2 separate regions of the Homo sapiens genome follow, and region 1 is linked to region 2. Evidence: promoter capture Hi-C in 16 types of primary human blood cells and fetal thymus (Javierre and others, 2016). All regions are on one chromosome and are shown on one strand. Each heading gives the region's core, a stretch centred on a gene start or on the middle of the fragment in contact. The rest is flanking DNA. Distances are from core to core; before and after follow the strand shown.

Region 1 (6,832 bases), core at 104-2,603, 1.0 Mb before region 2:
AAAAAAAAAATACTGTCTGTGTTACTGGGGAGATGGAAAATTCTTAAGGCAAACATTAAAACCTGTACTTAATTAATTTCTCATCACAAAAGTGGTATATCATTGACCCTTTCTCTGTAAGATTATTCCTTTCCAAATCTAGCACACATTCTAGTTTCAAACTGTCCCTCTAAAAAAAGCAAATGAGGCTTCATGTCTCATTAAGGATGGAGAAAAAGAGGTAAATGAAAACCCCATTAATTCTATAGAAAGTAGATTTAAAGTCTTACCAGTTCAACCTCCAATTTCCATATCCTAAAACTCACTGCCTATTTCTCAGGGAATCAATTTTTATTATGACTATAGAGAGCCACCAGGTGGAGCTCTTTTACACACTTTGCCTCTTAATTTCCTACAGTCCACTAATTATTCTGTCACACAGAAAGGTGAGATATAGATCAACAATGATCCATAAATATTTTAATCCATGGAACCTAATGAGAAAATGTATAGATTAGGAGCACTGTTATATTCAAGTAGTACCTTTAAGTATGAACCTTTCTCATTTACTTTCTAATGCCTCATCACCTTATTAGTTCTCAAAGCCCTTTACTAGACCAATGTTCCTATTCTGTCTCCCATCTGTGTCCCACCAGAGAATAGAAAAGTTGTAAGAGTACAAAGAACACAAGGTTTTGGAAAGAGAAAGGCTAGGCAGATCTGGTATTCACTGTGACTTCAGATCTTGGGCAAATAATTCAGTTCTCTCAATCTTGAAAAAGAATAAAATATGAAACCAAAAACATTCTAAAACTTTGAAAACTAGCATTAAATAAAAGTAACAGAAAAGAATATCTTATTTATAAATCACTTGTATTCAAGTAATAAAAACTGAACCATAAGCAATTAAAATAGATTCTACATGGTCCATCACCAAGGTTCCATTTGTGCAACCCAGATGCATCAATGTTCCCCAAGAAACAAAACGTAAAATTGTCTTTTGTTCTTTGGGTGTAATCTAGCAAGCTTCGTTCTTTGGTAAAGCAGGGCAGCTAGAAACAGACAAGAACAAGAAGAGACAGCTTATAGATAAAAATATATATTTATAAAAACTAAACATATTTTTGACCTAAAAGCAAAAACTATTTGGAAAGGCTAAAAGTAGATACTGAGAACCACATGTAACTATGTGAAATACCTGGTCCATCAGATAAATATACATTAACTTCAAATTAATCCCCATGCCTTTCCCTTTCCCTTACTAAGGACTGTTATCATGAAAATGAAAGCAAAACTCAAACTCCAAAACAGAATAAATAAAAAGCTGATAAAAATAACTATCCAATTCAGATTCCTAAAGGTATCCCTGTAATATGCTATACTGATTTTTCCCCCACACACTGTTCTTTACGGAGTCTTAGGAATTCCTAAGTTGGCAAAAAGGAAGACGGGCCAAGTAGATGGGGTTATACACCCACAACATAGTTCAGAAAGAACGGATCTCCTTGCATGTGTTTAGCATATGACTTTGACATAAGATTCCCCCCTCCCTCCCAGCCAATAAAGCCTAAAACTCACTGTACCATAATACATAACATCAGCATAATGATGAACTTTAGTTAAAAGGATAAATTTCTGCATACTTTGTTTACAGATCTATAAAAGCATCTGACCCAAATGGTTAAAACTCCTTTACTTTTTCACTTGTAAGCACCAAGCTTAAGTTAGCTGAAAAATTTACTTTCAACATATATATGTAACATATATATATATATAAATGAGGTGTTAATTACTGGGACTTAACATATGATAAAGGTAACCACATCACTGTAAGGGGACAACTCACCTAATTCTTCTCCACTATTATAATCATACTTATAAAGTTTAAAATCTTCACCGCCTGCAACAAGAAATTCTTTCTCAGGATGAAGAGATGCAGAATTGATGGTTGCAGGAGCTTCAAAGGATTTAATTGGGTCCAAACTGAAAAAAAATTTAAGTAGTATTTACAAATCTTGAATATGGTATAAATAACGAGTTACATTTGAACTGTTCTTAAATTCTGAAACCCAAGGAACAATTAAATACTCATTTACTCAAACATAAACACTGATGTAAAAAAAGCTGTTAGCAAAAAAAAAAAAAAAAAAATCAAATGGATACTATGCCCAAGTGGAGCTCATCTCAGCAATACAAAGACATCTTGATGGAGGGATATCCAGTTTATGCAGTGGATGTCTTCCCGGAAATGAGTGTGTTGGCTAATTAAAACAGTATGAATAATACACTGGGATTTTTGCTCTTAAATAAACTTCACCTGTATTGTTTCATTTTTCTACAACCACATATTATCTTTGTAAACAGAAAAAGTTTTCACAGTAGGTAATTAACATAAAGGATTATTTATATATTATTATTAATTGCTGAAGGTTTAAGCTCCTCAGCAAGATAAACTTTCTATGTCATAAAATATAAACTGCTGAAAACAGTTTCTACTATAAGGCAGTAAAAGACTAACAAAATTTGGGGCTATAGTTATATAATAAAAATCAATGCATAATAACAGCTTCATCTGAAATTCAATTACAGTTTGGACATTAGCTTTTTCAGTTTAACCCTAAAAATCATGAAAGGCCTCCAATACAAAACATTATAGTATCCCAGCTCCTAAATACTTCCCATCATCATATACTTTAAAGCATGTTAATTAAAGTTAGTCATGACTTATGCAGGATCACTACATAGCAACTTGCTGGCTCAAATGCTAGAATATTCAATGGTCCAGAAAATTTCTGCCACCAACATGGGATTTGCCTAACTGCAGGAGTGAGTGAAGAGCATTAATAAACCAATTGATGGCTCCAGGCCATAGTATTCTACTACTATCAGTTTACTGTATGTGTATAAACTCCTTGACATTGCTTAATTGCTCTCCTCCAATTTTACCGCCTTTTCTTTCTCCCAGTTAGCCCTTTAGACACAAGGTTAAGACACTGGTCAAATATCAAAGTGTAATGTGGTATAATCCTTATGGAAATCAATTAAGTGTCATGTATAACTAAGAACTTTAAACTCATTTCTAGCCTTTGAACTGATAATTCTACTTACAGGATCCTATCTACTGTAAAGAAACACTCAGAGATGTGCTAGAACATTCACCGTGGTGCTAAAACAGGGAAACTAACCCATAATTTAGTACAACCTATGATGCAAATACAGTGTATCAAGTAAAAATGTTTTCAAAGAAGTTTTAAATGGCTAACAATATTTTTAAACAAATCAAAATGGTATTCATTATGGTCCTAGTAATTAAAAAAAAAAACACAAATACTGTACACCCACATATATAACATAGAAAAATGGACTAGCAGAAAATATAACTACCATTATCACTCTTGCACCTATGGGTATAATATTGTGGGTACATTTTTTTCAATTATGTTATATATTCCAGTCTTTCTCCAAGAGTATTTACTACATTTAAAGTCGCAAAATTCAAATCTGTTTAAAAAATTCATTAAGTCTGCAAATACTCAGGAACAGAAATAAGATTATTCCTTCTCTAAAACTTTAAGGTGAAAATAAATAGTAGAATCAAGATCACACTGTTTTTTTGTTTTTTGTTTTTTTTGAGACAGAGTCTCACTCTGTTACCCAGGCTGGAATGCAGTGGTGTGACCACAGCTCAAAACAACCTCCACCTCCTGGGATTAAGCAATTCTCCTGCCTCAGCCTCCCAAGTAGCTGGGATTACAGGTACTCACCACCACACCCAGCTAATTTTTCTTCTCTTTGTATTTTTATTTTAGAGACGGGGTTTCACCATGTTGGCCAGGCTGGTCTCAATCCCCTAACCTCAAGTGGTCCGCCCACCTCAGCCTCCCAAGGTGCTAGGATTACAGACGTGAGCCACCACGCCCAGCCCACACTGGTTTTATATAGTAAAAAACATTAATGACAGCACCATTTCAGTAGTTTTTGCTTTTTTTTTTTTTTTTTTTTCAGAGGAGGTTTTGCTTTGTCATCCAGACTGGAGTGCAGTGTCAAGATCACAGCAAAATGCAGCCTCAACCTCCCAGGCTCCAGCAATAGAATACTCACCTCAGCCTCCCAAGCAGCTGGACTACAGGCGTGTGCCACCACACCCAGCTAATTTTATTTTTTGTAGAGATGGGGGTCTCACTGTGTTGCCCAGGCTGATCTCAAGCCATCCTCCCACCTCAGCTTCCCAAGGTACTGCGATTATAGGCATAAGCCACCACTCCTGGCCTCTTTACTTTTAAAAAAAGTAAATACCTTCCCATTTTTAAGTAGCCAAAATGTCTTTTGTTACCTAAAAAAGAAAATGAAAGTATTTCTTGGACATACCTTACTGCACTATGAAAAGCAATAGATCGTCCATAAGTTATAACCAAAATCTCTCCCTCAGGAATATATTCCATACTACTAACAGACATATTAAAATTTAGAGATTTCACTTCTGTCATAGTAGCATGATCCCAAAGTCTGCAAAATAAAGATAAAAATATGATGTTTACTCATGTAAGAAAAAAGTTTATAAATTCTAATTACATCTGCAGATTAGCCAACGAAAGAACAATCACAATTACAGAAAAACAACATTCATTCCAAGTCACAAATTACAGATGATTAAAAAAAATTCTGGGTTTCTATATACAATGTCAAATTATGCATGATAGCTTGTAAGTAAAATCAACTTTAATACCTACATACACTTCCCAATTTGGCAAAACTACATTATTAAGACAAGTTCTAATCTAGTCAATTTCAGCATTGCTATAAATAGTGGTTCTTACACTCTGTTTTTGTGAATCTAGTAATAGCTACACATCTTTCCAAAGAAATATACATCAGGTGTCAGCACACAAGATTTTGTATAGAATTTCAGAGGCTTCATGGTCCCTCCCTTTAACCATTCTGCCCACAGACCCAGGTTAAAAACACCTGCTTATAAGGTATCAGCAATTTAATTTTCTTCTGAATTTTGCTGTCTGTATACACAAGGTGAGCATCCCTTAATTGAAAATACTTGGGACCAGAAAAAAGTTGGATTTCAAACTTTTTCGGATTTTGGAATATTTGCATTAGACACTTACCAACTGAGAATTCCTAACCTGAAAATAGGAAATTCAAAATGCTCCAATGAGCATTTCCTTTAAGCATCAAGTCGGCACTCAAAGTCTCAGATTTCAGAGCGTTTCAAATTTCAGATTTTCAGGTTAGGGATACTCAACCTGTATTAGTAAATAGATAGCTCCAGATAAATGTGACCTGGGTGCAACTTAAATTTTAATGTTCAGAACATTTTTCACACATAATATTAAATGTATTTAAAATATAAGCTCTAAGGTAAAATATTTTGCAAATTTTAAGTTTGTTTTTCTTTTGAGACAGTCTAGCTCTGTCGCCCAGGCTAGAGTGCAATGGCACGATCTCGACTCACCGCAACCTCTGCCTCGCAGGTTCAAGTGATTCTCCTGCCTCGGCCTCCCGAGTAGCTGGGATTATAGGTGTGTGCCACCGCGCTTGGCTAAGTTTTGTAATTTTCATAGAGACAGTATTTCGCCATGTCGGCCAGGCTGGTCTAGTACTCCTGACCTCTAATGATCCACCCGGCTCGCCTCCCAAAGTGCTGAGATTATAGGCGTGAGCCACCATGCCCGGCCTTAAATTGTAAATTATTAAAGAAAAATTACTTACCGAACAGTTTTGTCATCAGCAGAAAGAATCTGTTTATCCTCACTGCACCACAGAGCTTTTTTTATACCAGAAGTATGACCACTAATTTCCTTAGGTTCTTGAGATAAAACAATTTAAAGTACATTTGTTAATATATGATTTTTTAAACTGAACAATATCGGAACAATTATATATTTTTAAAAACACACATTTTAAATTAGACTGCAACTTTTCAAAGCCCAGCCCAATTCAAACTTGATGTTTATATAGAATACAGTTAGTTTTTCTATATTGGAACATAAATTTATCTGCATGACAGGGACCCAAGGAACTACCATGCTTGCTATATGTAGCTGAGTGAATGCACCACTCACTCCCTCTAGGCTAAATTTCTGCACAACTGATAATATTCAAAAGCATTATTGTATAATAAATAAAAAGTATTTTATATTTATTATATGTATAATAAATATAAAAGCATTATTGTATAATTGTATAAGTATAATAAATATAAAAGCATTATTGTATAATATACAATATTTATTTGTACAATAATACAAATATTATTGTATAATATAAAAGCATTATTGTATAATTGTATAAGTATAATAAATATAAAAGCATTATTGTATAATAAATAAAAAGTATATATTTATTATATGTATAATAAAAAGAATTTTATATATAATAAAAAGTATATATTTATTATATGTATAATAAATAAAAAGTATTTTATATATAATAAAAAGTATTTATTATATTATTAATAAAATAATTAACGTGGCATAATTTAATAAGAACACGGACTCAGGAACAAAACAGTTGAATCTGATTGCAGTACTATGGCTAACTCTGGGACGTTTATCCAAGCAGCTATTGATAGTAAATAATGAGAAATAAGGGTTGGAAGGAAAAAAGGGAAATAGAAAGTGGGACAGCAATTCCCAAGAATGTTTCTACACTGTGAGGAAAACATAAAAAAAAAGGAAGGGAGCTTAAATCTGTAGGAGATTATCCTTTCGAAGAACTTCAAAAAACCCTCACTGCTGTCTCTAGGGGCAAAAGCAGACACTGGAGGCAATGCCATTCAACACTATTTTCACCTTTGGGCATGTTACTTAACTTTTTAACTTTATTTCCTCATCTGTAAAAT
Region 2 (6,899 bases), core at 43-2,542:
TCATCACTGCTCCTTGAAATACATCAGTATTGAAAGACACATCCACCCCACCCCCAACCCAGCCCTATTGCTGTTCCAGCTCAAGAGTCAGAGGTCCCGAAGCTGTAGCTCTTCTACAATCTGCTGCTCTGTGACTTCAAGTCTGTTGTCTGCAAAGAAAACTATTGGGTTCCCAAGCAAGAGAGGCACATCTGGTAGGACAGATTTTGTGATTGCAAAAGAAGGGGGAAAAAAAGAAAGAAAGAAAAGACCTCTCTATACAAGATAACCAGAGGCATCAAACTGAAATCCTCCTGTGGAAAATAAGCTAGTACTTCTGGGCCTGATGGTGTAGTGAAAACCTGTGCTTGAGGATACATTACAGTGAAAGAGCAAAGTGAATAGTAAGTAGCTATTACTTACCTCCTTAGGGAGGTGTGTTGTTTGTCTGTACATCCCCCACAGCACCTAGCACAGTACCTTGCATCTCACCTGCCACTCACTAAAAAGTCTATCAAGTTAGTTAATTATCGAGACAACGCCCTCAGAAATGAGAGAACAGTACCCTCTTATCCTTGCTGCACTTTCCAGCACTGATACGCTGCCTAAAAGAGGACTAGGGCACAGGTTTGAATTAATGTCACAAAACTGGATGGGCAAGTTACAACGGTGTTGATTAAGGAAACAGAACTCATGGTGCACCGGATATCTCCATCCTGATGAACCCTTGGAAAAATGCCAAAGATGCATATCCCCAGGCAAATGCCTGATTAGTCTGGGATTGATAGATTGGTCTAGGATTCAGCCCTACTGGGAAGATGTCTAAATTATAATCAGTGTAGAAAGCGAAGTTCTCCTAGAAGAAGAGGCAAAGGTTAAAAAGAAGAAAAGAAAAGAAAGTGAAGTCCTTTCTCCCCCAAAACCTCTCATCAATCAATCAGGGTAACAAACAGAACACTAGGGCTCTGTCTGTGGACCAAACCCAAAAGCCCTGCGGTCAGGGCCAGGAGGGTAGATCATGTGTTTGTGGCAACTTCCTCTGTGGGCTTTTGCCCAGGTCTGTCCCCAAGCATACGATGGCCAAAACTTCTGCACCAGAGCAGCATCCTGTGTAACACAGTCAGGTCCAGCAGTTAGGGAAAACTGCCCACTCAGAGTAGATAATATCTGGAAGGAATGACTGTTTGGGAAAAGTTCCAATGCTAGTTCAGTGCCAACCCTTCCCCACCTTCTCCAGCTCTCTCCCACTGGTTCCTCCCCTCTCAACTGCTCTGGTTCTTATAAAAACCTCACAGCCTTCCACTAACATCCCGTAGGAGCCTCTCTCCCTACTGCTGCTACACAAGACCCTGAGACTGACCTGCAGGACGAAACCATGAAGAGCCTGATCCTTCTTGCCATCCTGGCCGCCTTAGCGGTAGTAACTTTGTGTTATGGTGAGAAACTTTTCTCCCATTTCTCTGTGTTTACTTTTCTGCCTCTGACTTTGGCTTACTTCTATTTTTCCTCTCCCTCCTCCTCTTCTTCCCCCTTTCTCTGTTATAATCTTAAAGTACCATTACTTTCACATTTCCCAGTCTCCGCAGAAACTGATCTGTTCTATTAAGTCTTTTTTATATCCTAAATATCCAGAGTCTTATGCAACTTAACAGGCAAACCCGTTCAGTGGTAAGTCTCTGTATATCTAGAAACTCATATTTCAGAAAGAAGATACCAAATTCCCAGCCCCCTGCATCCTCATTTTTAAGGATATTTATTTAGACTTTGGTATCAATGGGTTAAGGGTATTGTTTAAACCACTTGCCTTTGAGAAAATCCATTTTTATGTGAAGTATTAAGTATAGCCCTTTCTAGGGACTGGACAATCTCATGAACTTACTATGTTTGTTCAGTTAATTAATTTTAAAATAAAGTTTTACATCAAAAGAATTTTAGAAAAGAATCATTTTCATAACTCCTGTTGTCAGAAAATAAATTTTGCCTGTTTTCTATATGTCATTAAATATACCTGCATTTGTTCAAAGCTTATAAAAGGAAATCTGAAGCAAAGTTATTTACTTATTTCAGTCTTTTGTTTCAATTACCTAGATATTTTCATTGTTTTAAAATTTAAATTACATTAACAACCATAAAGATTATGCTTCTCACTCTTGTATTCACAAATTTTCTGTATTAGAGGATTTGATTTCTTCACCTCCTTTTTAAGTTTTGAAGAAAATTCACTTGCTGGCAAATATTAATAGAAGCTTCTTATTCCAAAATTTATCTGCTGTGCTCAGGAGAGTGGCAGAAAGAAGAAAACTTCGGCTTTGATATCGTTTCAGTTCTCTCTCTGAACTGGCATCGTGCCCAGGGTGAGCTGTCAGCTGGAGCTAGTGGTTTCTGTGGCTGCCAATTTAACACAGGTTCTTAAGAGGCTTTCGGAACCCTCTTAGAAACCTGCCCTAGTAAGCCCAGCAGAGCAACTGCCCTGTAGTTCTCTTGCCTGGAGAAACCTGGCTGTCTTCTGGATCCTTCTTAATCCTCTTTGACCCTGTTCTCAAACAGGCTCTGAATAAATCAGAGAAGAAGGTTCTCTGGAGACTTCTGTACAGCACTTAAAGTGTCTTATTTTGCTTGTCTGAAGACGTCATAGCCCTTGGGAAATTTTAGCTGAAAATGGCCACTCCCTCCTTCAACATCAGAGAAACTAAAATATAGAGATATCCACAGCAAGGCCAGAGCTAGAGAAAAACCTCATAAATCCTAAATTCCTGAAATTTCTAATAACCACACTGCTAAATATATTCTTCATGTTTTTAGACTCTTTCCTCTTCTTCCATCCCTGTATTTAAACTATCACAGTGTCTAAATTGATAAATAATAACATAATGAATCATGGATAAATATTGATATAATGAATCTTTTTTTTTTAATTTCAGAATCACATGAAAGCATGGAATCTTATGAACTTAGTAAGTGAATATTTAACTTCTTTATTCAAATCCCTTGCATTAAAGAACCTCTTCTTATTTTTAAATAAACAAGATGGAAAGATATATAACAGGGAGGGAAAAGGGGGCCTCTTTTGGAAAACTAAAGTAAATTTTTAAATCTAATGACTATAAAAATTGCCAAAGGAGCAATTTTTTAAGTTTGAAGTAGTGCAATATGGGATTTAAGCTACAGGCGACATATTTAGAAGCCATAAAATCTCATTTGGAAATTTTAAATTGGCACCACGTCAACTGCACAGATGGAAAACGAGGAGTAATGACAAATGGTAAAGCACAGAGCTGGACGCCAAGTCAGCTGGGAGACCACAGGCGCCACGTTAAGCTGAGTGCTGTTTTGGTTTTTTTGTGTTTTTCTTTCTTGTTTTTTTTTTTGAGACAGTGTCTCACTCTGTCGCCCAGGCTAGAGTGCAGTGGTGTGATCTCGGCTCGCCGCAACCTCCACCTCCCAGGTTCAGGCAATTCTCATGCCTCAGCCTCCTGAGTAGCTGGGATTACAGGCCCATGACATCATGCCTGGCTAATTTTTGTATTTTTAGTAGAGATGGGGTTTCACCATGTTGTCCAGGCTGGTCTCGAACTCCTGGCCTCAAGTGATCCACCCACCACAGCCTCCCAAAGTGCCGGGATTACAGGCATGAGCCACCACACCCAGCCAGCTGATTGCTGTTGAATAGCTGGATTTATAAAGACTGAGCATAGGAGGAAATGGCACATCACTCTCATTTTTAATTTATTCATTATTTTTATAGTGTTTAAACTGTTCATGTATCGGCAATCTAGTTATGCTTCATAAATCCTCAGGACAGAGAATTTCTCCTCAAAAGGAATTTAAAATCTACCAAGTAGAAATACAGAAATTAAGAAAGGCAAAGTGATCGTCCAAACTCAAAACCAACAAAGCCTATATGACAAGTCTCTAAGACACATGGATTGATTACTGATTTCATTTGATCAGGAAGTTAATGAAATCTACTTTATACTCTCCTTTAATTTTTGCCAATCTCCGTTTATATGAGTTGCATAAGTTAAGGCACTTTCAAATATATTTGTGTCAAGGAATATTCACGGAAATATTTCCAGCTATGTGTCGCTAAAACTGCATTTATTTATTTTCTGTTCTAAGATCCCTTCATTAACAGGAGAAATGCAAATACCTTCATATCCCCTCAGCAGAGATGGAGAGCTAAAGTCCAAGAGAGGTCAGTAACAAAACTTCATGAGGAGTGGTCATTTTTCCCAGTGTAGATCACAGATCTGAATTGGAGTGGGAAACAGCTTTTTCATCATATACATTATTTCTAATTGTATCTTTAAAATCAAAAAACTTAAAAGCAATATTCAGAAAACAACTGAATTATTAGAAAATTATTTGGGGAAAGATCCGGAAAGGAGAAGGAAGGAGGAGAGAAAGGAGGACAGAAAGAAAACTTCTATTTTCATTAAAAAAAAAAAAAAAATCTCCTGTTCTGCCTTCCCTCCCTGGTTTTTTTTTTGGTTGGTTGGTTGGTTTTTCTGAGACAGAGTCTCACTCTGTTGCCCAGACTGGATTATAGTGGCACTATCTCGTGCCTCAGCCTCCCAAGTAGCTGGGATTACAGGCACGTGCTACCATGTCCAGCTATTTTTGCATTTTTTGTAGAGACGGGGTTTTGTCATGTTGGCCAGGCTAGTCTTGAACTCCTGACCTCAAGTGATCCACCCACCTCAGCCTCCCAAAGTGCTGGGATTACAGGCCTGAGCCACCGCACCCAGCCTCTCCCTGTTCTTTAAATATCTCTTAATATAGGGGGGCATGGAGAGAAAGTCTCTCCAATATTTTCTTCTTCTTTTCCATTTTTGTATTTTTCCACTTTATCCTTCTCAATTTTGGCCTCTTCTTCCACTTTCTAGGATCCGAGAACGCTCTAAGCCTGTCCACGAGCTCAATAGGGAAGCCTGTGATGACTACAGACTTTGCGAACGCTACGCCATGGTTTATGGATACAATGCTGCCTATAATCGCTACTTCAGGAAGCGCCGAGGGACCAAATGAGACTGAGGGAAGAAAAAAAATCTCTTTTTTTCTGGAGGCTGGCACCTGATTTTGTATCCCCCTGTAGCAGCATTACAGAAATACATAGGCTTATATACAATGCTTCTTTCCTGTATATTCTCTTGTCTGGCTGCACCCCTTTTTCCCGCCCCCAGATTGATAAGTAATGAAAGTGCACTGCAGTGAGGGTCAAAGGAGAGTCAACATATGTGATTGTTCCATAATAAACTTCTGGTGTGATACTTTCATCTTGTAAATCTGCTTTCTTTTGGGAAGATATTGAGATATTTAAATCATGGCCCACCTTACCCAAAATAGGAGATTCTGTTCATCTCATATCTAGTATTAATTAGAAAAATAACTACATAAAAAGAAGGAAGCTAAGAAGGCACTCACTCAGCCATAAATTCTCTAAACCCTCTCTACCTTGGAATCCGTGAATGGAATCTGGTATGTTTTTTGCAGGATTTTCCTATTGTAAATTGTGGCAAATACAGGGCTCCCTTCATTTGCTTTTCATCTCTTATGCATCAAAGTCAAAAACATTTCTGAATCAAGATAATCTAGAAGAGAAAAAAGGAGGAAAAGGAAAAGAGAAAGCAGAAGGGACAAATAAAAGCAATTGGCAAAAACTGTCAATAATAGTTTATACACTTAACTATATCAATAATCACATTATATGTAAATAGTCTAAACAATCCAATTATTTTTTACTTCTACTTATGTTATATTTTTACTTCTACATTTGTTAAAGGTTCCACGCTACATTTTTACTATTCTTGCTTTAAATAATTTTAATAATTTCTTTTAAAGTTTAGATAATAAGAAAATATCCCGGGCCAGGCACAGTGGCCACACCTGTAATCTCAGTAGCCATGACCATACCAATGCACTCCAGCCTGTGAAACAGAGTGAGACTCTGTCTCTACAGAAAAATAAAAAAGAAAAGAAAGAAAAGATCTCATATATTTACCCATGTAATTTTCATTTCCTGTTTTCTTCATTCTTCTTTCCATCTGGTGTCACTTCCTTTCTGCCTGACGACTTCCTTTAACGTTTTTTATAGTTCAGGTCTGCAGGATTCTTTAAGTTTTGTATGCTTGTTTTTATTCTTGAAAGATATTTTCACTGTATATTGAATCCCAAGTTGCCACGTTTCTTTTAATTATTTTAAGGTATTCCACTGAATTCTAGCTTGCACAATTTTTCGATATAAAATTTGTTGTAATTCTTACCTTTGTTCCACTGTGTATACTGCATCTTTTATCTCTGGCTGCTTCTAACATTTTTATCTTTATTAGTGCTTTTGACCAAATTGATTCAGACCTATCTTGATTTGATTTTTCTTATTTTTCTTGTTCTTGAGGCTTATTGACCTTCTTGGATTGCATAAAATTAGAAAAATTTTCAGCCATTATTTTTTCAGATACTTTGATCCCTCACTCCTCCTCTCCTTTAGAGGGTCCAATGACATGCACATTTGACCACTTGAAGTAATCCAACTCTCTGATGTTATTTTAATTTTTACAAATTGCTTTTCTCTGTGTGTTTTATTTTTGACACTTTCTATTAATGTGTCATCAGGTTCATTAACCTTTTCTTTGGCAATATCTAATCTACTATTAATTTCATCTAGTGTATTTTTCATGCCAGACATTGTGGTTTTAATCACCAGAAGTTTGATTTGGATGTTTTCATATCTTCCACGCCTCTACTTATCTTTTTAAATGTCTTTGATACATTTAAATTGTTCCAATAACTATTTTAACATAATGTCAGTTATGGGTTGGTTTGATTGGTTGATTATTCTACTTATGAACCACAATTTTCTACTTTTCTGCATTCTTGCTTAATTTTATTTGACGCCAGACATCATTTGATGCCAGACATTT

Evidence for each region. Contacts are between HindIII fragments. The CHiCAGO score rates a contact against its expected background, and 5 or more counts as called.
Region 1: a contact is called between a fragment that was not itself captured here and the fragment with the promoter of MGP in region 2, in 1 of 17 cell types (total CD8 T cells). The highest score is 5.2, in total CD8 T cells.

What each region holds. Positions count from the first base shown.
Region 1 is chr12:15,893,012-15,899,843 of GRCh38, reverse strand. It overlaps STRAP (serine/threonine kinase receptor associated protein), which reads right to left. Exons shown (of 10, transcript NM_007178.4): 5 at 5,701-5,797; 6 at 4,348-4,485; 7 at 1,826-1,962. Among named protein-coding and RNA genes, the nearest start is that of STRAP, 14 kb to the right of the region's middle. The HindIII fragment of the contact is 692 bases long and covers 1,008-1,699 here.
Region 2 is chr12:14,880,247-14,887,145 of GRCh38, reverse strand. It overlaps MGP (matrix Gla protein), which reads left to right and starts at 1,292. Exons shown (of 4, transcript NM_000900.5): 1 at 1,292-1,415; 2 at 2,901-2,933; 3 at 4,099-4,174; 4 at 4,866-6,282. The coding sequence starts at 1,355. The coding sequence ends at 5,007. RefSeq lists an enhancer at 5,205-6,404. The HindIII fragment of the contact is 4,253 bases long and covers 1-2,005 here.